Regions from separate parts of the Homo sapiens genome. Here regions 1, 2, 3, 5, 6 and 7 are each linked to region 4. The links are contacts of gene promoters, found by promoter capture Hi-C in blood cells and fetal thymus (Javierre and others, 2016). All regions are on one chromosome and are shown on one strand. The core of a region is centred on a gene start or on the middle of the fragment in contact, and the rest is flanking DNA. Distances in the headings are between cores, read along the strand shown.

Evidence for each region. Contacts are between HindIII fragments. The CHiCAGO score rates a contact against its expected background, and 5 or more counts as called.
Region 1: a contact is called between a fragment that was not itself captured here and the fragment with the promoter of INPP4B in region 4, in 6 of 17 cell types (total CD4 T cells, naive CD4 T cells, naive CD8 T cells and 3 more). The highest score is 12.3, in total CD4 T cells.
Region 2: a contact is called between a fragment that was not itself captured here and the fragment with the promoter of INPP4B in region 4, in 7 of 17 cell types (non-activated CD4 T cells, naive CD4 T cells, total CD4 T cells and 4 more). The highest score is 13.4, in non-activated CD4 T cells.
Region 3: a contact is called between a fragment that was not itself captured here and the fragment with the promoter of INPP4B in region 4, in 2 of 17 cell types (non-activated CD4 T cells and total CD4 T cells). The highest score is 6.9, in non-activated CD4 T cells.
Region 5: a contact is called between a fragment that was not itself captured here and the fragment with the promoter of INPP4B in region 4, in 2 of 17 cell types (non-activated CD4 T cells and naive CD8 T cells). The highest score is 7.3, in non-activated CD4 T cells.
Region 6: a fragment that was not itself captured here is called in contact with the fragment with the promoter of INPP4B in region 4 in 2 of 17 cell types (naive CD4 T cells and total CD4 T cells); the score reaches 6.6 in naive CD4 T cells.
Region 7: a fragment that was not itself captured here is called in contact with the fragment with the promoter of INPP4B in region 4 in 4 of 17 cell types (naive CD8 T cells, naive CD4 T cells, total CD4 T cells and 1 more); the score reaches 5.8 in naive CD8 T cells.

Annotation. Positions count from the first base shown.
Region 1 is chr4:142,088,735-142,092,575 of GRCh38, forward strand. The region is part of intron 23 of INPP4B (inositol polyphosphate-4-phosphatase type II B); the gene reads right to left. Among named protein-coding and RNA genes, the nearest start is that of IL15, 450 kb to the left of the region's middle. The HindIII fragment of the contact is 1,152 bases long and covers 915-2,066 here.
Region 2 is chr4:142,105,531-142,109,085 of GRCh38, forward strand. It overlaps INPP4B (inositol polyphosphate-4-phosphatase type II B), which reads right to left. Exons shown (of 26, transcript NM_001101669.3): 23 at 2,563-2,660. Among named protein-coding and RNA genes, the nearest start is that of IL15, 470 kb to the left of the region's middle. The HindIII fragment of the contact is 3,289 bases long and covers 393-3,555 here.
Region 3 is chr4:142,049,940-142,053,842 of GRCh38, forward strand. The region is part of intron 25 of INPP4B (inositol polyphosphate-4-phosphatase type II B); the gene reads right to left. Among named protein-coding and RNA genes, the nearest start is that of IL15, 420 kb to the left of the region's middle. The HindIII fragment of the contact is 8,711 bases long and covers 1-3,903 here.
Region 4 is chr4:142,844,390-142,848,366 of GRCh38, forward strand. INPP4B (inositol polyphosphate-4-phosphatase type II B) reads right to left here and starts at 1,912. Exons shown (of 26, transcript NM_001101669.3): 1 at 1,820-1,912. All of the region lies in intron 3 of USP38-DT (USP38 divergent transcript), which reads right to left. RefSeq lists an enhancer at 2,669-3,255. The HindIII fragment of the contact is 4,051 bases long and covers 1-3,624 here.
Region 5 is chr4:142,071,417-142,075,044 of GRCh38, forward strand. The region is part of intron 25 of INPP4B (inositol polyphosphate-4-phosphatase type II B); the gene reads right to left. Among named protein-coding and RNA genes, the nearest start is that of IL15, 440 kb to the left of the region's middle. The HindIII fragment of the contact is 649 bases long and covers 1,947-2,595 here.
Region 6 is chr4:141,853,156-141,856,861 of GRCh38, forward strand. No RefSeq gene overlaps it. Among named protein-coding and RNA genes, the nearest start is that of IL15, 220 kb to the left of the region's middle. The HindIII fragment of the contact is 3,976 bases long and covers 213-3,706 here.
Region 7 is chr4:142,027,940-142,031,855 of GRCh38, forward strand. INPP4B (inositol polyphosphate-4-phosphatase type II B) reads right to left here. Exons shown (of 26, transcript NM_001101669.3): 26 at 1-975. The coding sequence ends at 843. Among named protein-coding and RNA genes, the nearest start is that of IL15, 390 kb to the left of the region's middle. The HindIII fragment of the contact is 1,292 bases long and covers 613-1,904 here.

The DNA of each region.
Region 1 (3,841 bases), core at 241-2,740, 760 kb before region 4:
AAAAAGAAATAACTTAAATTCTTTTTCTTGGCTTCATGGTAGAACAGTTCATTATATCCTGAAGAACCTAAATTCTTACGATATAAAGACCCGAATTCAAAATTTCCACAGTCTAGTAGGGTGGGATGGATATTTAAACTATTATTAAATCCAGGAAAGTACACTGCAGGCTATGACATAACTCAGTAAAGATTTGTGAAGCAAGGGAAGCACTGGACAATTCTATAAGAATTGGTGGGTGTTGGAGGGCATCCAGCAAAGATAATGCTTTGCAGCTACCAAGAGCGTTTGAGGCTGAGGGGAAAATAGCAAAGGCACGAGGCATGAGCCAGTACTGCAGAAACACGGAGTGTGCAGTTCAGAATGTCCTTGGAGTGGTTAGTCCTGGGGCAAGATTTATGAAGGAGAATCATGTTCTGCTCTGCTGGGGAATCTGGGCTTCATCCTAGAAAATGCGGGCAACTGATGAGTTTTAAACAAGGGCTTAACCCCTTCTGGAAAGCCCCTGAGCTTCTTTCTGAAGTCAGGCTTGTACAAATGGCTTTCAAACAGTTTTGAAAGCAATACAGAATAAGAAGTTTCCTTTAACATGAGATGAAGACATCACATCTGGAGAGCTGATACATAACAATGCAATTTTAATTAGCAATACTTTATTATGTATTTGAAATTTGCTAACAGAGTAGATTGTAGATGTTCTCACCACACACACACACACACACACACACACACACACACACACACACAGAGAGAGAGAGAGAGAAAGTGATAAATATCTGAGGTGAGGAAGTAGTAATTAGTTTGACTATGGTAATTATTTAATAATGGATATGTATCATACATCATCAAATTGTATGCCTTAGGTATACCTAATCCTTAATTATCAAAAATACCTCAATTTATAAAAAGAAAAAAGCTTACTTTACAAACATCTCACAGCAGTCATACACACACACCCCTCTGTAACAAAAACCTTATGAAATGATATTTACCCTTAGTGTATACATTGCACTCGAAATTTTTGTATTTCATAATTTTTCAAAAATTGTAGTTCCAACACACCACATTTATTTAACATTTCCTAGGATCAACATAAAACATTTGCAAAGCCCTGAGTTAGGGCAACCCCATGTCCAAAGTGACTGGGACTGAAGTGACTTTTTCACAAAGTTCATAGTCAGAGGAGGAGTCAAGGCTAAAACTTTGTCTCTTAACTGCTGTACCAGTAATTTCTCCCAAATCTCTGCTGATGTTTTTACCATTGGTAGTACTAAAACCAGCTCTAGTATTAACACAATAGACCAAATTCTTCAGAACGCTGAGACTCCAGAACAGAGCATGATTTATCAAAATAATTTTGTTTCATTATAGACATGGAAATGTTTTAATAAGCCATTTTAAACAGACTATAAGAATCCTAAATGTAAATCAAGCACCTGGCCATCCTTTCCCCATTCCCACCTCATAAAGAGAGTGTGTTAGAATACACAGGCATGATGTCTCATGGAAATTTCATTTCCTCTCCCATGGTGTGCTTCTTACAAGAAAAGTAATTTTGATTTTTTTTTTAACATTTTTAGGCCACTATTTCTATTTCTATAGTGACAAAACTTGCTTTATTCAGAGCACACCTCTATCAACCCAATACTTGGGTTGCTGCCATTTTTTTTTTTTTCAACCCAATAAAAATTCTGCAGACCACAGAAATTCAGGTCTGGTTCAGGAAAGCAGTATCATTAATAATAGCCAGTTTGTTAATAGGTGAGGTTTCAAGATGTAATGATAGATCCTGATGTATCAACTGAAAATTGTGGTGTACACAGAACGTGAATTGGTTTTAGGCTTAGACTGTGTCTCCTCAAATGTAAATATAGCCAAAGAGTCTTGCTTTTGCTACTCAGTCCTGCATTATTCTAACACAAAATTTAGACAGGGCAGCTGAGTCTCTATGCATATCTCCATAATAGTATTCTTTTTTTTTTCAAATGGAGTTTAAGAAAGTATTCAGAGGTAAAAGTTACAAGAATGTTTATTGCATTATTGTTTATAATTTTAAATAGCAAAAAAGCTTTAATATGTTCATAAAGAGTAAGAATAAACCAATATATTAATGCAAAGTAATATAAGTAAAAAGGATACACAAATGCCATATGTGTCAACATGGATATATCACAAAAACAATATTGAGCAAAAAAGCACAAATTATAGAAAGATTCATACAAAACAACAGCAATAATATAGTCAAATGTGCAAAACTGTACCATATTTTTATGGATACATAAATATAGAGTAAAATGTGTATGAGGATGCAAAACATCAAATTCAGGATATTGATGTTCTCATAGGAGGGGAGGATTAAGGGTGGTAACCTGGAGGGGTACAAAGGGAGCTTTTACCCTATCTGTAAATATTTGTTTCTTACGAAAATTCCAAAGCTGAGCAATGGGTTCCCAAATGTGTGCTATGTATGATTTGTTCTTTTTTGTTTGAAACTTTTATAATTGCTTTTCAAAAACAGCACTGAGCCAAGATTCCAGGAAAGTGATTTCTAATGCCAATTCTACTGCTGCTTTGACGTGTAGTCTTAGGCAAATTGCTTAACCCTCTGTCCCTATTTCCTCAACTGCAAAATAAGGGCAAGAATCCGGTCATGCGTCATTGACCAGTAATGGAAAACAATGAATAAAACTCTTGGCAGAAAAGGCTACATTATTAAATTCTGTGTCACCTCTGAAAAACAGAAGATATTAGTAGCACTTAAAAAAGAGTTCACAGCCTCAGAGGGGAAGCCTACTTTCTCAGGTAAAAGTCAGAATGTATCCAAAGTAAGAAACAGTCTCCTCACACACGTGCAGTCACACACCCCAGTCACAAACATTCACAAACCCCATGACTATTCTCGTACCTCCCCAATGGAACAGAACAATCAAGTTGAGAGTCAGGTTTTAGGGCCTATATCCTCCTTGTTAGGTCAAATAGGTTTCTTCAACAAGAAGAGCTCTGACTTTGACGACCTGAATCACAGGCAGGGTATTAATAAGTAAACAGGAATGGAACCGTGGCCTTTTAGCTCACTGAACTGTGATGCTAATGATGTCAAATAGTTTCATTCTCTTATGGCCAAATAACTGTGTGGCCAGAAACTGTTCCAAGATGAATCAGAAATTATGGCTGCCTTCCCAGTCCCTAATCTACTCACTTCCCACACTAAGTGGCAGATACAAAATTGCCATGGGATGCACCACACTCCCACTCTGACGTCCATTTGTGTGATCCATACCCCTTGAAATCAAGACTAGTTCACGAATAGACATGATCTAAACCAGTTGGCACTAAATTCTCATCTTAGCAACTGTTTTAAGGATATGCAAGTGGCCTGTGCTGTTCCAGCTGAGTGAAGCTCCTGAAGAGGAAAGGAACCTCTTCTTAGCCCTTTGGTTGAGTGTGGGGTTAGCTCATAACAGCCATCTTTTAGCCACAAGACCAGACATAGGATAAAATTAACATAAGAGATAAGAGCAGCCTAATGATAAAATACAAAGGAGATATTGTTTTTTGTTTGCTTTTGTTTTTTGAGACAGAGTCTTACTTTATCACCCAGGCTGGAGTGCAGTGGTGTGACCTCGGCTCACTGCAACCTCTGCCTCCCTGGTTCAAGGGGTTCTCCCGCCTCAGCCTCCCAAGTAGCTGGGATTACAGGCACCCGCCATCATGCCTGGCTAATTTTTGTATTTTTATAGAAATGCGGGTTTCGCCATGTTGGCTGGGCTGGTCTCAAACTCCTGACCTCAGGTGATCCACCCGCCTAGGCCTCCCAAAGTGCTGGGATTACAGGCATGAG
Region 2 (3,555 bases), core at 787-3,286, 740 kb before region 4:
ATGAGAGCCACTTGACTGGGAGTGAATATATAAGCTAAAATTAATTTATCATTAAGTCCTGATATCACAAAAGTCAGGGATATCCCTTAAAGTTAAGAAAATCTTTGGAGAAGAAACACTTTTTTACTTCAAAAATAGAATTCACCTACTTACTTCATAAATCATTTAAAAAGAGAATCAGTAAATTAATAGTCAGCACATCCATAATGAATTAAAAAGTGACAGCAATATGTTTAAGAAATTAACCTATCCTTTAACATTGACACAAATTATCCCTTGATTTCACTATGAAAGAAGGAAAATAATAGATTATATGGATTATGGATATGACCCAGCATGATAGTTCTTTCCTTCTTAGCAAATGGCCTAACCTCTACTCATACTCTTATAAAAGCTTTATGTTTTTTCCTTAAATAGAGCAGAACTCAAATCATTCTTTGGCTTGCAATATGTCTACAGGAGGAATAAACCCATATGTCATCATAATTGTATAGATTGGAGTTGTACTTTTGTTATGGAGCACAACCACAGCCATACTACAACTCCATTCTGTGTCAAATAGAATTGTCTCAAAAATACAGGAAACAAAATATCAGAAAACAATCCAGTATGTTCAGACAACTGTGTAAGCAATGAAATGCAATTGGTTTTATACAAAATTCCGTCTTGTTTGCAAGGAGAGAAATATATTTACATGTTTTGAAAAACACTTGTTTATATTTAATTGGCAATATATAGAATCACATGTTGTTGTTGTTGTTATTTTGAGACAGAGTCTCACTATGTCACCCAGGCTGGAGTGCAGTGGCACAATCTTGGCTCACTGCAACTTCTGTCTCCCGGGCTCAAGCCATACTCCCACCCCTCAGCGTCCTGAGTAGCTGGGATCACAGACACATACCACCATGCCCGGCTAATTTTTGTATTTTCTGTAGAGATGGGGTTTCACCATGTTGCCCGGGCTAAAATTTTTTAAACTTATATTCCTATGAAGAGTTTAAGTTACTTGAATATAGAATTATTTTGTATTTCAACAGTACCTATACATATTTCTTTAGCAATATGATTGTTTTAAGTATAGCACTGAAAGTCCTCACAGACTTTGCCAACAATCTACTTTGTAATATATATTTTGAGTAAGGATGGCATATTATTAGTTCTCAAACATTAGCATGAATCAGAAGCCACCTCAAAGGCCTATTAAAACACAGACTCGGGGAGAGTTTAGTAGATTCACAGTGTGGCCTGCGAATTTGCATTGCTGACAAGTTTCCTGGTGATGCTGATGCCGCTGGCCTGGGGACCACATATACTTTTCAAGAATTAATATAAGAAATATAATTTTTATCAAGCTACTGACAAAAATTCTGAGACTTTTTTTCCAAATTGTAAGTAATTTGTTAAAAAATAATTAACATTCAAGTTATAATAAACTCTTTTTTTTCATTAATTGCTAAAGAAAAATAGTTTTACTTACATTATTAACTTTTCAGGTAATTAACAAATTTAATACTTAAAGTATGCTTGCTACCAAAGAATCTCCATGTACTTAAATTCATTTTGGCAAAAAATAATATTTGATTTGACATAAAATAATATAAATCATAATATAAAATCTGCAAGTGACATTTTTAACTATCCACACATGGGCACGCATATGCCACTGCAATATTTGGATACCACATTCATTAGGTTATGAAGACATAAACACTCTGCCACCTGAGCTATTTCACACTAAATAACAGAATATAAATCAGTGAGCAAATTGTTCATGATTACAGAACAAATAGTAACGAGTAGACTTTGATTACAGTTTTTGGTTAAAATATTATAATTTTCCTACTTTATTAAAACTTAGCTTCTTATCATTGTGAATATCTCAACATATTTATACTATTTATAGATGAATTCCAAATACATTCCCAGCTCTCTGATTTTGGACTGCTCAAATGTTATGTGCTTAATACGATGGGGAAAAGAAATGTAGAATTGGACAATGGCCCCCTCCAAAACAAATTCCAAATGTGTAAAACACATTTTTAAAGGCTTGGGTGCCTTAACTTTTTTTGCATAAAATATTGCAATACATATATTTAATAAGTTAGTTCCCTCATTCACATTGACTTAATATTATTTTGTTCAACTGGTATTATATCTGATGTTCTCCTGCATGTGTGTCCTATGTCTGATGTTGCTTATAAATGGAGACTTAAATCTTTAGTAAAGTCTTTTATATGGTTAAGAATTATACAAAATTTTTATCAGACTAATTAAAATGTCTAATTATAAGGTCCATATTTTTATTATTTGGCATTTTCCAGTGGCAATGAAATTAATGTCTCAGAATGAACAGCAGGACACATTCAAGAAGGCAATCAAGAGAATGATGCAGGTGTTGGCCATGCTACCTTGGCAATCAGTCTTTTTGGATCAGATAATTTCAAAATCACTCTCACATCCCTACCCCTGCTTCTGTAGTCCACTGACCTCTATGTCTGACCTCTTCTAAAGATTTATAATCAAGAAGCTATTATTGCTGTCTTCTCTAACTCACATACTTACAATCAGGAGGCATCTTTTCCATAAATATCTTGTAATATTCTTGTAGAAGTTCGAAGTTTTCCTGATTAATACTTTCTTGCAAAGAGACATCTCCAAACCTACAAACAGAAAAAAGAAAACAGCTGTGGGTTATAAAACGGTACCAAAAAGTAACACATTTTACCTTTCCTTTTTAAATAGATTAGAAAATAATTTCCTAAGGAAAGAGTCTGTCTCATTTTTCAAGCTACAATTCACAATGGTGATTTCAAACATATTCCAATCTCCACTGGCCCTGATTTCACTAATCGCTTCTAACACCTCAAATATCCTCACAATCATCAAATGTGAACCTAGATAAAATACCATGTATAAAACAACAGTCTCTGTGCATGGACATAATTGATATTAGCTTCCCTATCCTACTCCACACCTCTGTGGCAGGGCTACATCCCTGTATGTGTTTTAAAAAACTTTTCTTACTATCTATCCAACCATCCATTTCACTCGTGGCAGCTGAGGGAGGGGACCAGAAGACCAGCACTGGACACTGGGCTGCACGCAGTCTTGCCCACACTATCAACTGCTGTAGGCACACGTAGAGCCAGATTTCCCAGACAGTAGATCATTTCTGCCGACATTTTTTTCGTTCATACCATGAAGTCAAATGGTTCTGTACACGTAGTCTTCCACCAAGAGGTGTCAAGACAAACCTGTCTACCAGTGTGTCACTAACCTTGTGTTATCTTTGAGAATTTCCCAAGTTCAAAGGTAAAACCCACTTGTCTCCCTATAAAAGGATGCTATGTAAATGGCTTCCAATATGTATCTTCATCAAAATCTCTATTTCTAGGTGTGAATAGAAAATTTCAGTGTGCATTTTCCAACTCCACTTCAAATATAACATAACCCAAAACTAAAACTGCTTCCTCCTTTGAACCATTGCTAAGCATGTCCCCAATATTTTGGCATTAATTCAGGTTCAAAATCTAGGCATCATTTTGGATTTCCTCT
Region 3 (3,903 bases), core at 608-3,107, 790 kb before region 4:
TGAAAGGCAATTCAGACACCATATCTCATTACTCAAAATCACAAAACAATCAACTAAAGGCCTATGTTCTTATCCACGTAAAATACCATTGATGATGTTGGAAGCTGATTTTATGACTTTTCATCAGGTGATGAATTAATTACTATTGTTAGGCTCCCGCATCACATGGCTCAAATAGTTTTATTTTATTTTTTGAATTCATTTTTTCTAAATACAAGCAAATAATTCACTGAAAACTGCTGCCAAGAAGTTGGCTAGGGGATAGGGAAGAATTGACTTAGTACAAATGAGATTCCAAACTTAATCTAATAGTTATCTAAAACATGCTTATGTAGAAATCTGTAGCTAAAATTTACCAGGTTTCTTATCCTTTTGTTTTAGGGGATTGTAACCAAAAGGATGTCATTCTGGTAAAAGAAGAATTAGCTGCCTCATTACTTTAACATTTTTCTAATAAGAAGTATTTCAATGAAAAGAATAATTAAAAACAAAAAAGATTATTAGCTAGTGGATTCTTATAATTCTATAAATATCAGGTTTTTAGAAATTTTCAGTAGATAGCACTGTACACAGCACATAGTGATTCTATATATATTATGGGATTCTCAACTCCATTATATACAGGCTTATAATGTAGTGCTTATTTAGTGGGGACTCAGACAATCCTAGGTCTGAATCGGGCTTATTCTCTTCCTACCTGTGCTATTTAGATGAGCTATACTTTGGTAAATATTCGTTTTGTAATATTTAAAATAGGGATGATAAATTTGTATACACACAAACAAACATGAACATGTACAGAATCTTTCTTTAGCATGTCTGGCATATGTTAAATACCATCATCCCTTGGTACCTACAGGTGGATTGGCTCCAGGATGGACCACCATGGATAACAAAATCTGGAGATGCTCAAGTCTCTTACAGCCAGCCCTCTGGGTCCACAGATACAACCAACCACCCATCAGCTGATGAGGAACCCATAGATTTAATTACATACAGATAATTATTAAAGAGATTATCTGCAGAATAAATTATTAACATACATAATGACTTCCAAACTTATTTATTCCCTAGGAATTTTTTAAAATTTCTCTAGAAATTGCTACCTGATTGAGTATAATACATGTTCCTCTGTGTTGAGATATGTAAACTAGAGAAGTTGCATATTTGTATAAGTTAAAATAAATATATAGGTTTCTCTCTTCTCCCTCTATTCCTCCACAAACAAGCACATATTTATAAAAGAACATTAATCCTCAAAAAGATACTACAGCCAAGAACACATTGAATACTTTCATTAAACATTGTTTTGAACATAATACCTTTACTTTATCATCTACTGGCTAAAATTCATAGTGCTTAAATTGCCTAGTTTTCTAAGACAGACTTTCCTATACAGTATTCCGTAAGTATTGTTATAGAATACTAGATGCTGGGTTAACAAAAGTTAAGTTCTTTTATGGTAGAGTTTTCCTAAGACTTTAATATCTAAGTGAGACTTCTGGGAGCTAGCAACATGCTATTTCTTGGACTTGGGTGGTGGTTTCATCGGTTTTTGCTTTATAATTATGTTTTTGAAATGTACATCTATTTTTTATTCACTTTACTGTAAATACATAAAAAAGTCTTACATATAATGTATGTTGTGATATTCGAAGGAGATATAGATTAAAAATAATTTTCTCTTGGTACACACATTTAACATCAGCGTTGCTCTACAAGGGTTTTAAAAGACATTTAAAGCCACCAACTAATTAGAAAATAAACCATTTACCTAAATTGATATCCACATACCACAATCGTGATGGGTCACAAAGCTAAGTAGAAAATTAATTCAACTGTCTAAATAATTCTTACGAAAGTGTATTATTCTTGTGTGCATACATTTAGATATCATTTTGTTTTGATTTTTAACCTAAATAAATGTTTCAGTTTCTTTTCACTTGGTAAAGGATAAAATCTAGGGTTCTCCTACAAATCTGTGGGTCCAGAACCTCTCATTACAAGAAAGCAATGTGGATTCCTTATAGTTATAAGTAAAGGTAATAACACCGTTCTCATCTCTTCATTTTTCTTTGATGGTTTTACTTTGCAAAAAGTATAAAATGACACATTAGACTGAAATAAAATGTTCTGACTTCCTTAGAACCAACACTCAGGTCTTTTTTGATCAAGAATAAACTATTTTTATCAGACTACCATTATATTTAAATACCTTTCAACTATTTACAAAATGACCTCACAAATTGTCCAAATATTTATACCTTTAATAACTTTAAATACTCCATGTATTATAAATTAGATAATGAAAATTAAAGAGATTAGATGTAGAATAAATTAACATGCCTAATGATTTCTAAAGAGAAATGCTATTGCTCTTTTTATTAAACTAGCTTATTTATTCCCTAAGAATTACTTAAAATTTGCCCAAAAATTGCTACCTGAAGTATAACCCATATTCTTTTGTGTTAAACCGTGTTTATTATTCTTCAGATGTATTTCTAAAAAACATGACATCAATTTTGCTGTGCTAAATAAGTATTGTATATTACACTTTTGGAAACACTTACAGACATAAAGCATTTCCAACAGACAAGACATGTACAAATAATTTCCCCCAGATTTTTGTATAGTCATTTTAGAGCTTTTTAACAAGGGTAAGAACTTTGTTGATGAGATGTAAGCCTTTTTTCCCATTTGGGCATTAAAAATGATGGGATTTGGCAAATGGGAACCATATTTATGCAAAGAAAAAACAGTAGCAGGACACACTGGGGAAGTGAGTTCTGAGCTTGGTGCTCTCACTGACTAGTGGTGTGTACTTACTTAAACTTGACTTACTAAAATGGTATTTGGGACAATTGGCCTAGGTACTCTCTATAAGCCCACAGTCTATTCTACTTCAGCAATTCTATATTTGCTTGTCGAATTCTACCTCTTAATTTCTAACTCTTCATTCATCATGTACCAGGCACTGTACTAGATGCCTGAAAGATAAAGTTCCAGCCTTCAGGGCTCAAAGACTAAAGGGGGAAATGATACCCAAATCAATATTAAAACATCAATCTCATGATGAATGTCTGTACAGTGACATTCAAGCATAGACAAAGGAACAATGAACCACCACAGAAGAGGTATTGTCTGGGAGAGACTTCACAGAGATGTCGGAGTTTATTAGGCAGAGAAGGGGAAAGGACACGGCCAACAGGGACTGCGTGTGAAAAGGACAGTGACTTCAAGGACCTGGAGGGTTGGCTGGGAGGACAAAAATTGTGGAGAAGGGAAAGGAGAGGGAGATGGAGAACCATGTGACAGGCCACTGAACTGCTCTTAAGCAGCTGGTACACAGATCAGATATGTATTTTGAAATATGAATTTGGAAAGCTAACACAAAGGCAAGGCTTCCAGAAGGCAATGAGGAGAGAGAACCTGAAGAGAGATGGTGGTGAGGCTGGATCTACCAAAAACATTAAGTGGATGGTAACATTGTATCATTAACAGAAAGGAAACATGTATTTTATAAACACTGGTGATATTGGTACTAGTATCATTGTTCTGCTGGGAAAAATTGTCATCCTGACTTAGTCCTAGGTCCCAAGTATGGCTACCACATTTCCACACAGATAAAAGTTACAATTGTACCTGTAGTCATGGCCCACTTTCTCAGAAAATACTTTACTTTAGATATGCCGGAGTGTTTCACTCAATATTAACCTGAATCTCCCAATTTTTCTCCAAGAAACCATGAATGATAACCTAGACCTAGAAAATTGTGGGAGGGTAGTAAGGTGCTAATTGCTAACCTCTACCAGAAAGCAAGAATGTTACAATAAGAACCCCGATTCAGGTATTCCTTGATTTCTTGGGCTGATTTTTATCGGTGACATAGACTCCAGTGACCAT
Region 4 (3,977 bases), core at 662-3,161:
CTTCACACACACATTTCATAACCTTTCAAGGACAATCTTCTACATCACATTTTAAGGAAATACACTGAAAAAGCAATCCATTTTGCAATAGCATTTTACATTACTACAAATTCACGAGGTTCAACCTTCAATGCCCATGTACCTTTCACAAAACTATTGATCATTTCCTATCAATGCTTTACAGGATTATATCACAAAGGAACACATAATGCATGTATGTGCATCAATGCGTAAAGGAGAGGATGCATTTCTGTGCATAGTATGTGAACTGACAATGCCCACTTGCCCAGTCCTTGCTTTACTCAACTTCTTACACATCATCAGCCAGCTGCCCTGTTGATGATTCCTTGCACCTTATGCGCTGCTTTATCATTGAGTCAGATTACTACCATTTCTGGTCCAGAACTCATTAAGAAAAGTCCTTTTTCAAGCAAGGTCTTTGAAATGTAGTTGTACACCTATAAAAGAACTATCTGGAGCTCATCTTGAGAGAGAGAAGATGAATTTATCCTCTGTCTTTAGGCTTTTACTTACAGAGCCACACCTTTATAAACAAGTTCTGTCTGTCATACTGACAGGAAGGAGATATGCAAAATGTAACATCTGGAGTCATAAAATATAATGACCTCAAATAACATTCCAGAAAGAGAAAGGAAAACTAGTTCTGGTTAGGGAGAAGATAAAAGAGGAAAAGGAGTAAATTTACATCCTTAAAACAAGAGTAATAGAAAACCCTACCGGGTTTTTCCAGTAAGTTTTGTGCAGCAGCAGCAACAACCTAATCAATATGTGCTTCCTCACCCTCTTGTCCCCAAAGAGAAACTGCTGGGCCCCTCTCCACCGACTCCCCAGGAGCAGAAACTACTGCCCCCAAGGAAGGGAGAATTCAGAAGCGTGGGGAGGGGGAAAAACAGGTATATGTGGTTCTAGCATCCTCATCTTCATATCAGCTACCAGCCTGAAACTACATTCAGGAACCAGGCTCCCAGACATTCCCCGGCCCTGGGCCCTGCCTGAGCGCCAGAGAGCTTGAGGAGCCTGCAGCATAGTTCTCAGACCCGAAACAATGACCTCCCCCGTCCAAACCCAGGCACTCTTGCGCCAAGGCCCTAACCTCTCAGCGAGACCTCTTTGGGGAAGGACAAGAGATGCTGCCTGATGGCCGAGAGAAGACATGCCAGGCTTCTCTGCCAGAATGAGTTGTTGAGGGTGGGATGAAGGTGGTCAAGGAGATGGGCTCTTTATTTTTAAAACAAAAAACAAGGCAACCGGGACCACCAACATCAGTCACCCTCACTCCCCACCACTGCCTCTATTCCTTAAGGACTTCTTCCCAGGCCGGCGGCGGCGGCGGCGGCGGCGGCGGCAGCTTGCGATCATCAGGATTGGAAGTGAGAGCGAGTGCCCGGGCCAACCTCAGCGTCTCTCAGGGACAGCGCAGGTGGGCGCAGCCTTGGAAGGTCAGCGAGGCCAGAGCTCAGAGTTCCACGGGGGCCCGGAGAGTGTGCGTGTGTGAGTGAGAATGCGAAAACGCGCGCGCGCCGGGCAGAGGGGCGCTCGGCGAGAGGGTAGGCGCGGTGACAGGGGTACCCCAGCAGCCGAGGAGAGACAGCCCACCCCACCCTTTAAGCTAAAGAGCTGGAGGGGTGATGGAGGCTGCAAGACGGAGAAACTTGATGCAAAACAGACAGGCTCCCCCCTCCAAGACGTGCCGCCACGCTCTCAGACACGCTCCCTCGCCTCCCGGATTACCCACCATCAACCACCCCACCCTGCAAAATTCCCCCACCGAGCCCTAGGATCCCAGGCGGGTAATTACCTCTCCCGGAGGCGGAGTGGGGGGCGGCAGCAGCAGCAGACACTTTTAGCCTGACTTTCCTGCGTTCGCTTGCGAGCGTGTGAGCGTGTGCGCGCCCAGGAGGAGCTGTAACCTGCTATTTATAGACCGAAGCCTCAGTACCCGGGGCTGAGAACCCGGAGGAAACTAGCAGGCGGCGGCGACGGCGCAGGGCGCCGGCCGCGGCTTCGCGAGGCTCCAGCAGCTCCCCCAGCCTCTGGCTTCGGCCGCGCTCCCTGCTCGCTCCTCGCCTACCAGCCCCGCGCGCGCCCCAGAGAAGTTGTCACCAGCGCGGCTGGCTCTCCGGCTGCTCACACGCCCCCTGGCACAATTGCTACTTTCTTCCACCCCAACCCCCACCCTCCCCGCTCCTCTTCCTCCTCCTCTGCTCTCTCCAAGCGGTCTCCTCCCAATGTCACCAGCGACCGAGTAGAGGCGGCCGTGGCAGCGACAGTCGCGCAACTGGCGCTGCTCGCTTCCCGCTACTGATAGAGCGGAGATGGTGGCCCGGCTGCCCACCCCGAAATTACCACGCTGGCTCCGTGTGCTCACACCCCGTACCCCGACCCCTTTCTGCGGCCCCTCTGCCCGCTGGGTCGCCCACCCAGACTGGGCTGTGGGATCACCGCTACCGCGACGAGGGGGGACCCGAGGCCGCCACGCTGCTGCGGGGGCAGGAGAAACCACAGAGAAAGAACCCGCGGGAGGAAGAAAGCGCCCCAGACCCCGGCCTATGGCAGCGCAGTCCCTAGACCGAGGGTTTTTGGAAGGGGCTTGGGATCCCTGCTGTCACTGCCTGCGTCTAGGCATCCATTCACGCCTGCTGGACCCCAGTCTGCAGCCGCGCTGGGACCCCTGTCTCTTGCCCCTCCTCCCCCTTGCCCCGGGCAGAGGTCGGGCTGAGGAGACCAGCTTAGAGCAGCCCTCGGCCACCCACCGCCAGTTCCCACGTCGCGGCGGGTGACTGAGGCCGAGATGCTCCCAACTAGCGTATGACATGCCTTTGATATCCCGGGTGCGTGGGGACAAATCCGCCCTGAATGTGTTGGGGTATCAGGAAAACGGGGTATGTAAGCAAGCAGTCTGGACGGAGACTAAAACTCCCCCACTTCCTAGCCCCTAACAAGCCCACAGGGGAAAGCACGCACCCTGGTTATTCCGGGCTGTGTAGGGTGTGGGGCAAATGACTCTCCCCATCTGCGCTTTACAGGTGCCACCTGGCGGCTCTCTCGGAAAGGTTTTGATGGAGCCGTTCAAAGGTAAAGGTGCCCAGAGCCAGCCCATCAAGACACCCCAGCCCTTCTCCCTGAGGGCGCTTTAAAATCACATTTTAAGTAAAGCAGTGTACGAATGCTTGTACACAAGTGTTACATTTGCCATGCAAAAAGACTGGAATCTCAAAGTCAGGACAGTGAAATCAATTTGGGTTAAGTCGGGGCTTAACAGTTTCACAAACCAGGAAGCTGTATGTACCCCCAGCTGTCACCCCTGCTGTCACTGCCCGCATCTAGGCATCCTTTCACTCCTCAAACCTTTGACCACCACATTATAAGCCTTGCCAATGAGGACAGGGACTTTGGGTTTGTTTTGTTTTGTTTTGTTTTGTTTTGTTTGGTGGGGGGAGTTGTTTGTTCGTTTCATTTATTTTTTTCATCACTCTGCTCCCAGAGCTTGGGACAATACCTAATATTCTGTAGTTTCAATAAATGTTTATAGAATCAAATAATAAACACTATAGGCCAGAAACTGCTTGGCGCCCCCGAAGCCCTTCCTTTTGCTTCTCTTCAAGCTTTTTCTCCTATGCTCAGCCTCTACCCCAAGTGAGCTGAATGCAGAGAGATAGGAGAGTGAGGAACAAATAATCCCTGTCAAGATGTGGATCAGCTTTGAGAAGCCTTCACACAGTTAGATTTCTCCTCCATGGGGCAGCACTGAACACACCCATCTCCAAGCAATGGGTAAGCCGTGTTCATAGAGATCTGCTGGAAAGATGATACAACTTTCTCACTGGGCAGTTTCTGATTTTTCTCACAATAGAGAGAGATTGAAATAATATCAGGACATTAGGATGTCAGAGCTTTGCTACTAAATTGGAAATATGGTTAACATATCTGTCCTCTAAGTGGAAGAGTGTGTGTGT
Region 5 (3,628 bases), core at 1,021-3,520, 770 kb before region 4:
TAGGCATGGGCAAGGACTTCATGTCTAAAACACCAAAAGCAATGGCAACAAAAGCCAAAATGGACAAATGGGATCTAATTAAACTAAAGAGCTTCTGCACAGCAAAAGAAACTACCATCAGAGTGAACAGGCAACCTACAGAATGGGAGAAAATTTTTACAATCTACCCATCTGACAAAGGGCTAATATCCAGAATCTACAAAGAACTTCAGCAAATTTACAAGAAAAAATCAAACAACCCCATCAAAAAGTGGGCAAAGGATATGAACAGACACTTCTCAAAAGAAGACATTTATGCAGCTACAGACACATGAAAAAAATGCTTATCATCACTGGCCATCAGAGAAATGCAAATCAAAACTACAATGAGATACCATCTCACACCAGTTACAATGGCAATCATTAAAAAGTAAGGAAACAACAGTTGCTGGAGGGAATGTGGAGAAATAGGAACACCTTTACACTATTGGTGGGACTGTAAACTAGTTCAACCATTGTGGAAGACAGTGTGGTGATTCCTCAAGGATCTAGAACTAGAAATACCATTTGACCCAGCCATCCCATTACTGGGTATATACCCAAAGGATTATAAATCATGCTGCTATAAAGACACATGCACACATATGTTTATTGTGGCACCATTCACAATAGCAAAGACTTGGAACCAACCCAAAAGTCCATCAATGATAGACTGGATTAAGAAAATGTGGCACATATACACCATGGAATACTATGCAGCCATAAAAAGGATGAGTTCATGTCCTTTGTAGGGACATGGATGAAGCTGGAAACCATCATTCTTAGCAAACTATCGCAAGGACAGAAAGCCAAACACCACATGTTCTCACTCGTAGGTGAGAATTGAACAATGAGAACACTTGGACACAGGGTGGGGAACATCACACATCGGGGCCTGTCATGGGGTGAGGGGAGGTGGGAGGGATAGCCTTAGGAGATATACCTAATGTAAATGACGGGTGCAGCATACCAACATGGCACATGTATACATATGTAACTAACCTGCACATTGTGCACATGTACCCCAGAACTTAAAGGATAATAATAAAAAAAAAAGTAAATAAAAGAGAACCAATGCAACAGATGATATGAATAGTGGAAATGACTTTTTTTTTTTTTTTTACCTTTCCTCAATATAGTTTGAGGACATAACAACCATTTACAGTTTAGTAAAAACAATGTGATAGGAAGCTGCCATGACAAAGAACCAATAATGACAGTAATAACAGTCATCACCACACATCAGTAATAGCCATGACAGCATTTAATATTTACTGATCCTCACTGTGTAACAAGTACTATTTAAGTGCATCAGTGATCATTGTCTCTTTTAGCGCTCATGACAACCCTATTAGATGAGGATGCTGGTGAAATTATCACTACAATATAAGTTTGACTTTACCAACTGCTTACTATGAACTATACCCAGTTACCAATTTCTTTATATATGTTGTTTCATTTTACAGATAAAGAACCTAAGGCCTCTTAGAATTTCATTCCCACTGCTAAGAAGTGGAGAAATCAGGCAGTCTAATTCCAAAGTCCTTCCTCTTACCCACTTTATGTGCCATAGTGGGGCAGCCTGCTCTTTGCTGAGCTGGCCTAATTGTTAGATTTTAGGGTATTCAGAGCAGTGATTACCCCTAAATAATACTATGGTATTTGAGAGATATCACATGTGATTTGTTACTAATAAAATACCAATTTTGCAAATGATATGCTCTATAAATTACAGTTTTGATCCCCATAATGATGTCATTCACACTCATATGAGTTCTGATAGGCTCACTAAATGGAAGAGAATGGAGTGTAATTATGCATAATGCATTTTTGCTCATAGGGCTTTAGGCCACTATCGTTTGAACATTAATATATTATGCCTAGCATTTGAACTTCTCTGTCATCTGTGGTCTTCTGATCAGGAGAAAAGCTTGCAACATTTTGGGTACTTATTCATAAATACAGTTGCCTCCCAGTTCAGTTTTCTTTAGAAATTGGCCTGTGAAGCCATCCAATTTGTTCCCTTGAACCAGTGTCTAGAGCACTATAACCAATATTCAAGTTAGAAGAAGGGTTGAAGCCATTTTATGACAGTGTTTACCTGAGTATAGCAAGTGTTCTGATGGAAGACAAGAAGTTTTAGACAGTATAATGATAATTCACTGAATTAATGGTTTTGGATTTCTTTGTATATGAGGACAAACATAATAGGCATATTGAATATATGAATTCATGGATATCATTGGCTAGGACAAGGCAGATGGTGTTTGTAGAAAAAATCATTAGGCAGTGAAATGAAAATTATTTCCTTGATTCTCTTGTCTCAACCTTCCAGGGGCATAAATAGACTCTAGGTTTTGGCATAACTGCTCTCCATAGATCATTCAGGTTTGGGCTGCCTGCATCTCAGCCTTCTTTAGTGAAAATGAGACCTTTCTTGGACTAGTTCTTGCTACACCTCATTTTCCAAGTGCAAAGGCATCAATCATCTCTCTAATCAACTGTAGGTTTTTGTTTCTCAGCTGGAAGTGTCTTTCTCTTATCTAAAATGGAGCCCTGTCCCCCTCCCAGCTAAAAAGCTTCACATCATGTCACAGGCTCCTGTCATAGCATGATGCATTCTCTGTCCAAACCCAAGGGATGCTCCTGTCTTATTCCACTGTGCTTTCATTTAAAAAATAAAAATAAAGCACATTTTTAAAAAAATGCACCACTCCTGAAACAGTGTCTTCTAAATGTAACTTAAACACAACAGGCCAGTGGTTTATTTATAAATGCTGGAAACCTTTCATAATTTGCAATTATGTGCAAAACTCCATTATATGAAACATAGAAGATGAGATGAGTGAGAATCTGGATGGCCAGTAAATGTTTAGACAGATATTTAATCTTATTTTGTGTTACTGAGAAAATATAACTTAAACAAAGATAGCACTTTTCATCCATCAGATGGTTAAAAACTCTTACAGTACAAGTATTGGGATGTGTGGAGAAATGGGAACACATGTGCATGCCTTGTGGCTTATAAATTAGTATAGCTATTTGGAAAAGCAATCTGGCAGCATCTAGCAAAATTAAAAATACAAATGCCTTACCACCCATTATACCTATTGGTTTATATACATGGATATACATGTGAGAATGTCTATTACACTATTGTTGGTAATCAGATGTTGGTAAAACATCTGATGTTTTGCTGTTACTTAAAATTAACTAGGGCAATAGATAAATTGTGGTCTATTTATACAAGGGAGTATTATATAAGTTTAAAAGAAGATAACTAGATCTAAAATAAATACAGATCTCAAAAACTTGATATCAGCTGAAGAAAATAAGTTGTTCAATGTGCCACACATTACAACACTTAAACGTAAGCAAAATCACTTGACAAGTGTGATGAATGAATAAGCACTACTCTTATCCACTTAGATAATTCTAACATAGATTTTCCTAACTCCTGGCAACTTACCTAAATTGTATGCATCCTTAAGACACAGTTCAGATTCTACCTCCTCCAGGATACCTCCTGGCCACAGTGATTCTTTTTATCCTCTGAGCCACTTAATAATGAACACTTTCTATGCTCTGGACTCATTTATTTGATTCTGTT
Region 6 (3,706 bases), core at 951-3,450, 990 kb before region 4:
CCTGAATAGCTGGGATTACAGGCACCTGCCACCGTGCCCGGCTAATTTTTGTATTTTTAGTAGAGACTGGGTTTCACCATCTTGGTCAGGCTGGTCTTAAACTCCTGACCTCGTGATCCACCCACCTCAGCCTCCCAAAGTGCTGGGATTATGGCGTGAGTCCAAATGTACATAATAGTAAACATGCTATGCGAGAAAATGTTAACGCAGCAAGCTTGATGTTTCCTAATTCTCACATTTCTGTAGAAGGGCTTGCTTGTGCGGCTGACCTTGACTGGCATCTAAAAATTTGGCTTTTGAAATGTTTCCCACATGACTAATTTATAAAGCTGTTTTGCATGCCTGGGGGCACTGAACTCTAATGTACCAGCCTGTCTACAGTGTTTGTGCAAACAATGTGATTTATGATGAACACCTGCTTTCCTTCTGGGAGTCTGGGCTTTTGGTAATCGCGGCTGGTAGCACAGGTAGAGAGTACCTGCATGACCAACCTCCAATAAAAACTTTCCGCTCTGTCTAAAGCAGGCTTTCCCAGACAGAAACACTTTGTGCATGTTACCACAGTTCATTGCTGGAGGAAGGGGCGTGTATTGCACACCCTCCTGAGGGAGAACTTTGGAAGTTGTGCCTAGATCTCTCCAGATCCCTCCTGATGAGGCTTTTTGTCCTTGCTAATTCTGCTTTATGTCTTAGCTGTAGTAAACTATAGCCATGAGTACAATTAAGGTGCCTGGAGTCCTGTGAGACCTTCTAATGAATCACTGAACATGTATATGAATGACCAGAGGACACTGGAAACATGTACAAACAAAATAACTACAAACCAGATTTCCTATAGTCTCACATTCTTAGATAATAAATGCTCAATGTCCCTAATAGATAACTATGTATTGGCTTTGTGCAAACCAAAACCAGAACCAAAGTTGAACATGAACCAGAAACAAAACAAAAAATCAGAGTAAGGGGAAAAATAAGTTAGCAAAGGTAAATTCTATTGCCACTTTTGATTCATTCAAAAAGAGCAAACCAAAATACAGATGAAGTTGCTGCAAGGAGTACTTGAAGAACAGAGATTTGAATAAGCAATCGAGAAATAAAGTGTGAAATAAGTTTTCTAGGTGAGAAAAAAACTGGTTAATATCTTATAGGGCAATAAAACCATAACTTACGGACTTATCTTTTTAACTGCCAGAAATCATTTGTATCTCTTTCTGAAAAAAATTAACATGTAACTTCACAGAATCTGAGATTTAATCAGTGTTACTTAGAAACTCAAACAAAGATATATCATAGAGAATTCTTAGGTGGATCTGTTAGGCAATGGCCCAGAATAACATTAAGAAGACACACAGTCATCCTTTTGCTCTATTTTGAAGTTTTGGATAATTTTTCTTAACAATGTGATAACGAATATACAATAATAAACAATTTCATATTCATAGTATACTGAACAGTATATATGGAAATAATTAAAAAAGAAATTTGTATCAGAAAGTTTATTTATACAACCATAATTCTAACCTTGATAACTTATGACAAAAGATCATTTGGTTAATTGTCATAAATAAATTATATTACCAAATTGTGCTATAAATCATATTATTAAAACATACTATACTAACACTGGAACAAAATAATGAGTAATATATTTTTCAGGGGGACATATCACACTGTATTCTTTGTTATCAAAGTCAATGGAAGATTTAAGTGCTACTTTGAGGTAATGAAGTATAATGGAAAAGGATTCTTCCATAGGATAAGAATTATAATTGCATAAAACCTAACTTTCTGTGAAATAATGTTGTAATGAACTGAATGTGTGTGTGTCCTCAAAATTTATATGCTGAAATCTAATTCTCATGGTGGGTTGTTGCGGGAAGTCAGGGACCCTGAATGGAGAGACTGGCTGAAGCCACCACAGAAGAACATAAATTGTGAAGATTTCATGGACATTTATCAGTTCCCAATATTAATACTTTTATAATTTCTTATGCCTTTCTTTACTGCAATCTCTGAACATAAATTGTGAAGATTTCATGGACATTTATCACTTCCCCAATCAATACTCTTATAATTTCTTATGCCTGTCTTTACTTTAATCTCTTAATCCCATCATCTTCATAAGCTGAGTATGTATGTCACCTCAGGACGCTGTGATGATTGCATTAACTGTACAAATCGTTTGTAAAACATGTGTATTTAACAACATGAAATCAGTGCACTCTGAAAAAGAACAGAATAATGCGATTTTCAGGAAACAAAGGAGATAACCATAAGGTCTGACTGCTGTGGGATTGGGCAGAATAGAGCCATATTTTTCTTCTCGTAGAAAACCTATAGACAGATGTGCGAGTAGGAGAAATATCGCTGAATTCTTTTCCTAGCAAGGAATATTAATAATTGATAGACCTGGGGAAGGAATGCATTCCTGGGGGGAGGTCTATGAATGGCTGCTCTGGGAGTGTCTGTCTTATGTGGTTGAGATAAGGACTGAAATACACCCTGGTCTCCTGCAGTGCCTTCAGGCTTGCTAGGATTGGGAAATTCCAACCTGGTGAATTCTAGTCAGACTGGTTGTCTGCTCTCGAACCCTGTTTCCTGTTAAGATGTTTATCAAGACAATGCATGCACAGCAGGACATGGACCCTCATCAGTAATTCTAATTTTGCCCTTGCCTTGTGATCTTTTATTGCCCTTTGAAGCATGTGATCCTTGTGACATACTCCCTGTTCGTACATCCCTTCCCCTTCTAAAATCCCTAATAAAAACTTACTGGTTTTGTGGCTCAGGGTCGCCATCATTGTCCTACCAATATGTGATGGCATCCCCAGAGGCCCAGCTATAAAATTTCTCTCTTTGTACACTTTCTCTTTATTTCTCAGACTGACCGACACTTAGGGAAAATAGAAAGAACGTATGCTGAAATATTGGGGGCTGGTTCCCCCGATAGTGGGTCCTTTGGGAAGTAATTAGGCTATAAGAATGGAAGGGATTACAGCCCTTATAAAAAGAACTCAGAGAGCTAGCTTGTCCTCTTCCCATCATGTGAGGATGCAATGAGAAGTTAGCAGTCTGCAACCCAGAAGCCCTCACCAAAGCCCTACCATCAGAGTGCCCTAACCTGGCACTCTGATCTCCTACTTCTAGCCTCTTGAACTCTGAAAAATAAATTTCTGTTGTTTATGAGCCACCCAATCTATAGTACTTTGTTAAAGCAGCCCAAACTGACCAAGACAAATGGAGGCAGTTACTACATAGTATTCACAATTGACATGTAATCTGCAACACCTATATCACGTTGCCATAGGATTTCTCAATAATAAAAACAGCTTTCAGTTAATGCATATAGAATAAGATCAAGTTGGATGTCAGAGAAGGAAGGAGGAGAGGTTAATCTATTGCCTTGTTTTGAACAACAACAACAAAAAAAAGCAGGGGAGGGATGTAATAATATATTGTAGGAAAACACTTTATAAAATGAGTAGCTTATCTAGCATTTAGACATTGGCTATTTCATTAAATCTCTAGGAACTGAATTGAAGTTTAATAAACTAATGAGAGGACCTTTGATTTTCCTTGCACCAGAAAACAGAGAATGATGCCTGTGAAATGAAAGGTTTATCATATGTGAGATAGCTTCATCCTGCAAGGAAATTGATATTATGCTTGTTACTTTCTACATGTATTCAAGGACTAGTATCACCAT
Region 7 (3,916 bases), core at 9-2,508, 820 kb before region 4:
CACTGACATTCATGAACTTCACAACATAAAGTTCAGGCTGATGGGAATTTTCATTTTGGGTATCAAAATGTTGTTCATTTTTATTTTATTTGTAATTTTAGATCATTGCAGTGTTTTGCTTATCATTCTATTAAACGTTCTATATTGCTACATTCACAGCTAGATCACACAACCCAAGTCAGAGTTCTGAAAAGATGCCATGGTTTTGAAAGGTCTGTTGACCACTTTACTCACTCCATGCATATGCCTGTTGCAAGGGAGGAGTCACACCTTGACTGGATGATAGAGATCATTGTGGAACATACCTGCAAACTGCCTCAGTATTCCAGATCATGAGTTAACTCTACCTAATTGAGTGGCTACACATTTTTTTTAAATCCCTTACATTGATTCTCAGGTTGACTGTGTTCTCATAGGCTATTAAGTTGTATCACAAAAAAAATATGTTCCTTTTCCCCCTCTCCTCTCTTCCATTTGGTTGGAGAGTGGTGCTCTGTGAATCACCCCTAGTCCTATTGAAATGATCCATGTTTCCTCAGAAACATTTAAATACTCATGAATGAAATTTACACTTTGTGAACCAATCTCAATCAGCTAGGCTCAACACATAGAAGCTTAGAACTAGAAATGACAGTACTGAATCATGTAAGATTTTTTAAAATGGATTTCTTTCAGAGCAATATGCTGATGATGAATTGAAGTAGTTCCTAGATTTTGGGAAACATCTGTGATCATCTCCCCCACCACAAATTCATGACAATAAAAACAAACAAAAAAGACCAAGGTGAAGATTATCCAACTGAAATGTATTTGTGTTCCTGTTTATTAACATGTTGGTAAACTTAGGTGTCAGCTTTTCCATAAGTCCCCTCTGGAGGTCTGTAGTACTTGGGGAAAGCCATCAGCTGTAGCATGTTGAAAGCATACTTTCTGCATTTGATATTCTTCAGTACATTCTCTATGCGGCATCCTTCTCTGGTGAAAGGGGAAAAAGTACAACTTCATGAAACACAGAATAAATAAATATGCTTTATTTGTTTAATGCAGAGTTGCAGCAACCATCCAAGTAAAAATAACAAAGATTCAACTCTACATTTTTTTTTTCCACAAGTGATGATACATCTTACAAAATTAAATCCTAGGCCAGGCCCAATACCATTATTGCCCTCTGAAAGAGATGACTTAAGTCTCTTTACTCTTAACATTTAAAATTTAATAAACTCTTTAAATATAATTTGCTCCACAATACAGCTCCACTTTAGTTTCATAAATATATCTGCCTTTTTATAACATTTCCACAAATTAATTTCTCAGTCTCTTTAAAACACATTAAAATCTATATGTAGCCCTAAGGATGCAGGTTCTAGAAATAAGGCATTTAATTTATTAAGTCTGGCCCTATAGATTTTTAAAGAAAAATTTCATCTCTATTTTATTATTTTAGCTGTGCAAGGAAGAGAGAAAATGGCTTTCTGAACAGCCTGGGCCAAGTCTCAGCTTTATAAAGGAAGAGTGCTTGTCCACGGACAGTACAAAAGTCACAAGTGCTGGGAATGGTACATCAAGACACAAACAAGACCTTGTTAAAAAGAATAGAAAAGTCCTCTGAAAGCCAAATCAACCCAAACAAGAGATACAAACAGGTAATTTAATTACAAAACATAAATAGCCATTCTCTCCATAAAGTTACTTGACAGAAAAGAGTTAATTGCAGCAAAGAAGTAAAACAGGTTAAAAAAAATTTCTATCAGCAGATGGCATCTATGATATTAGCACAGTGGAAATAAAGTCTGCAACCTCCCACATCTCTAGAACTTGTCTCAGGGTTTCAGTGTTTGTGCAAATTTCAGTCTTAATTTCTTTAATAAATTTAGTGGGATGAGGACAGGAGGTTCAGAACTTCAAGCTTTCAGGATTCTGTTCTTTGTCTTATTCCAAAGACAGTAATTTAAAAATTCTTCTTGAGCTAGTTAACAGTGGGAAACACCTTTCCATGAACAAAAGAGCAAAATAATCCACCTAATGCATAGTACTTTTTGTTTTTTAGATTTTAGGAAAAACAAACTAAACACAATTTAACATTTTTTAAATTCTGTGAATTTGAAAATGTAAAAATATTACAGCATTGTCCCCATAATTTAAAGTTCATTGTCATTTGTAGAAAAGAAAAAGGAATACAACATAAAACTTATTGGTATTTGGCTAAGAGTAACGCCAGACTTAAAATAAGCCACACAACTAGCAGGTGTGAGCTGACAAGCAGCAAGGCGACAGGATAGAAGTGTCGAGAAGTTGGCTTGTTATCAGTTAGACAGCCTGTTTCAGGATCATCGGATTCATTCAGTGCTCCCTGGGTTTGTCTGCTGTTAAATGAGGGGAAGTTGGGGGGGAAAAGAAAATAGTATAGAGTTCACACAGTAAAAAAAATTCAGCCTTAAATATTCTGAAATACAATGCATTATCTTACATAACACAACTCTTTCAGATGAAATCTTATGGTAAATTTCCCCAAATGCATCTTGTGTATTGTTTTCTCATTGTACTACATGGGCAAAGGAATTAAAACAGGAGATTCCTTTAGCTCTTTGTGCAAGAAGGAAGAGAGAAACACTGTAATGATATTCACATGGGTTGATTACATATGTGCAAGGAAGAATCAAATAAGCATAACAGCACCAAATCAAGACTTTATGAATACAACTAAAACATGGATTAGCTCATGAAAATAATCTGATAACTACATCTTTAGAAAATGAAATGAACAACACAGGATGTAGTGAAGCAAACCAATGTGTCTGGCATATTTAAACATACTCTCTACTGGCATTGCACCTATATAATGTATTTAAAGTTATAAAAATGATTTATTGAAATGGCACAATCTTTAAAATGAGTGAGACATCTGACATGCCATCCTTGCAAGCCATAATATTAGTTTAATAAAATCCAACTCAGCACCCTTCTGTTAGTTCAGCTCATAAATTATATCACCTCCTGCTCATCTTCTTTAGATAGGGCCAAATCTATCTCCTATGGACATCTCATCTGAAAAGAGACCCATATTTACAGAGTGATACCACAGAAAATAAAAGACTTCATTTCTAGATTGTTTACTTTCTGTGTAAATAAAAAAAAGTAGGGGGTTGGTTTATAATTCTGCTTAAAAGCAGCTCCAATTATGGCCAGTCTGAAATATACCATATTGATATAAATTGAAAATAAAATAATTATGCTCTAGTTCATCAGTATTCAGAGTATTAAGAATCTCAATCACATTCAGTGGTTAAGGGGGTGGGATATTCTCTATTAGCTCTTCTATGTTTTCAGGCAAAAAACTGATTGTGGCTCAGTCTTATGAAAAGTGGAACTTTTCAAAGGAAACTTCTAACGAAGCTCCTTAGCCATGGCTGATTTCTAGTCCTTCGCAATCCCCAAACAAGTCCTATACAGAAATTTTTGACCAGGCATTGACCACACCAGTGTCAGCATTTACATAAATATCATAATTATTTCATACAATATGAATTAGTGTAAAACACCAAATCAACCATGTTGTGCTGTGCTCTGTTATATCCTCATGGTTTGGTAGAACCTAAGGACTATGCAATCAGTGACAAAGTAAAAGACTGCCTGGAAAACAAATGGTTTACTGAGCAAAAGGGGGTTTATTTTTGATTTGCATTTATTCCTATTGTCAATTGTATGAGTAACTTGGTTACTATTCAACTTTTTCCAGCACACCAGGTAGAAAATGTACAGTATTTTAGGCATTGATATTTTTTAAAGTGACTAAGAAAAGCTCCCCTTACATTATATTATTTCTTCTATTGGCTTCAAATCCCTAATTGTTAATCCCAGAGAAGGAGTTTATTCATTTCTTCAACCCAAAGTTTTTAGTGTCTACTATGAACCAATT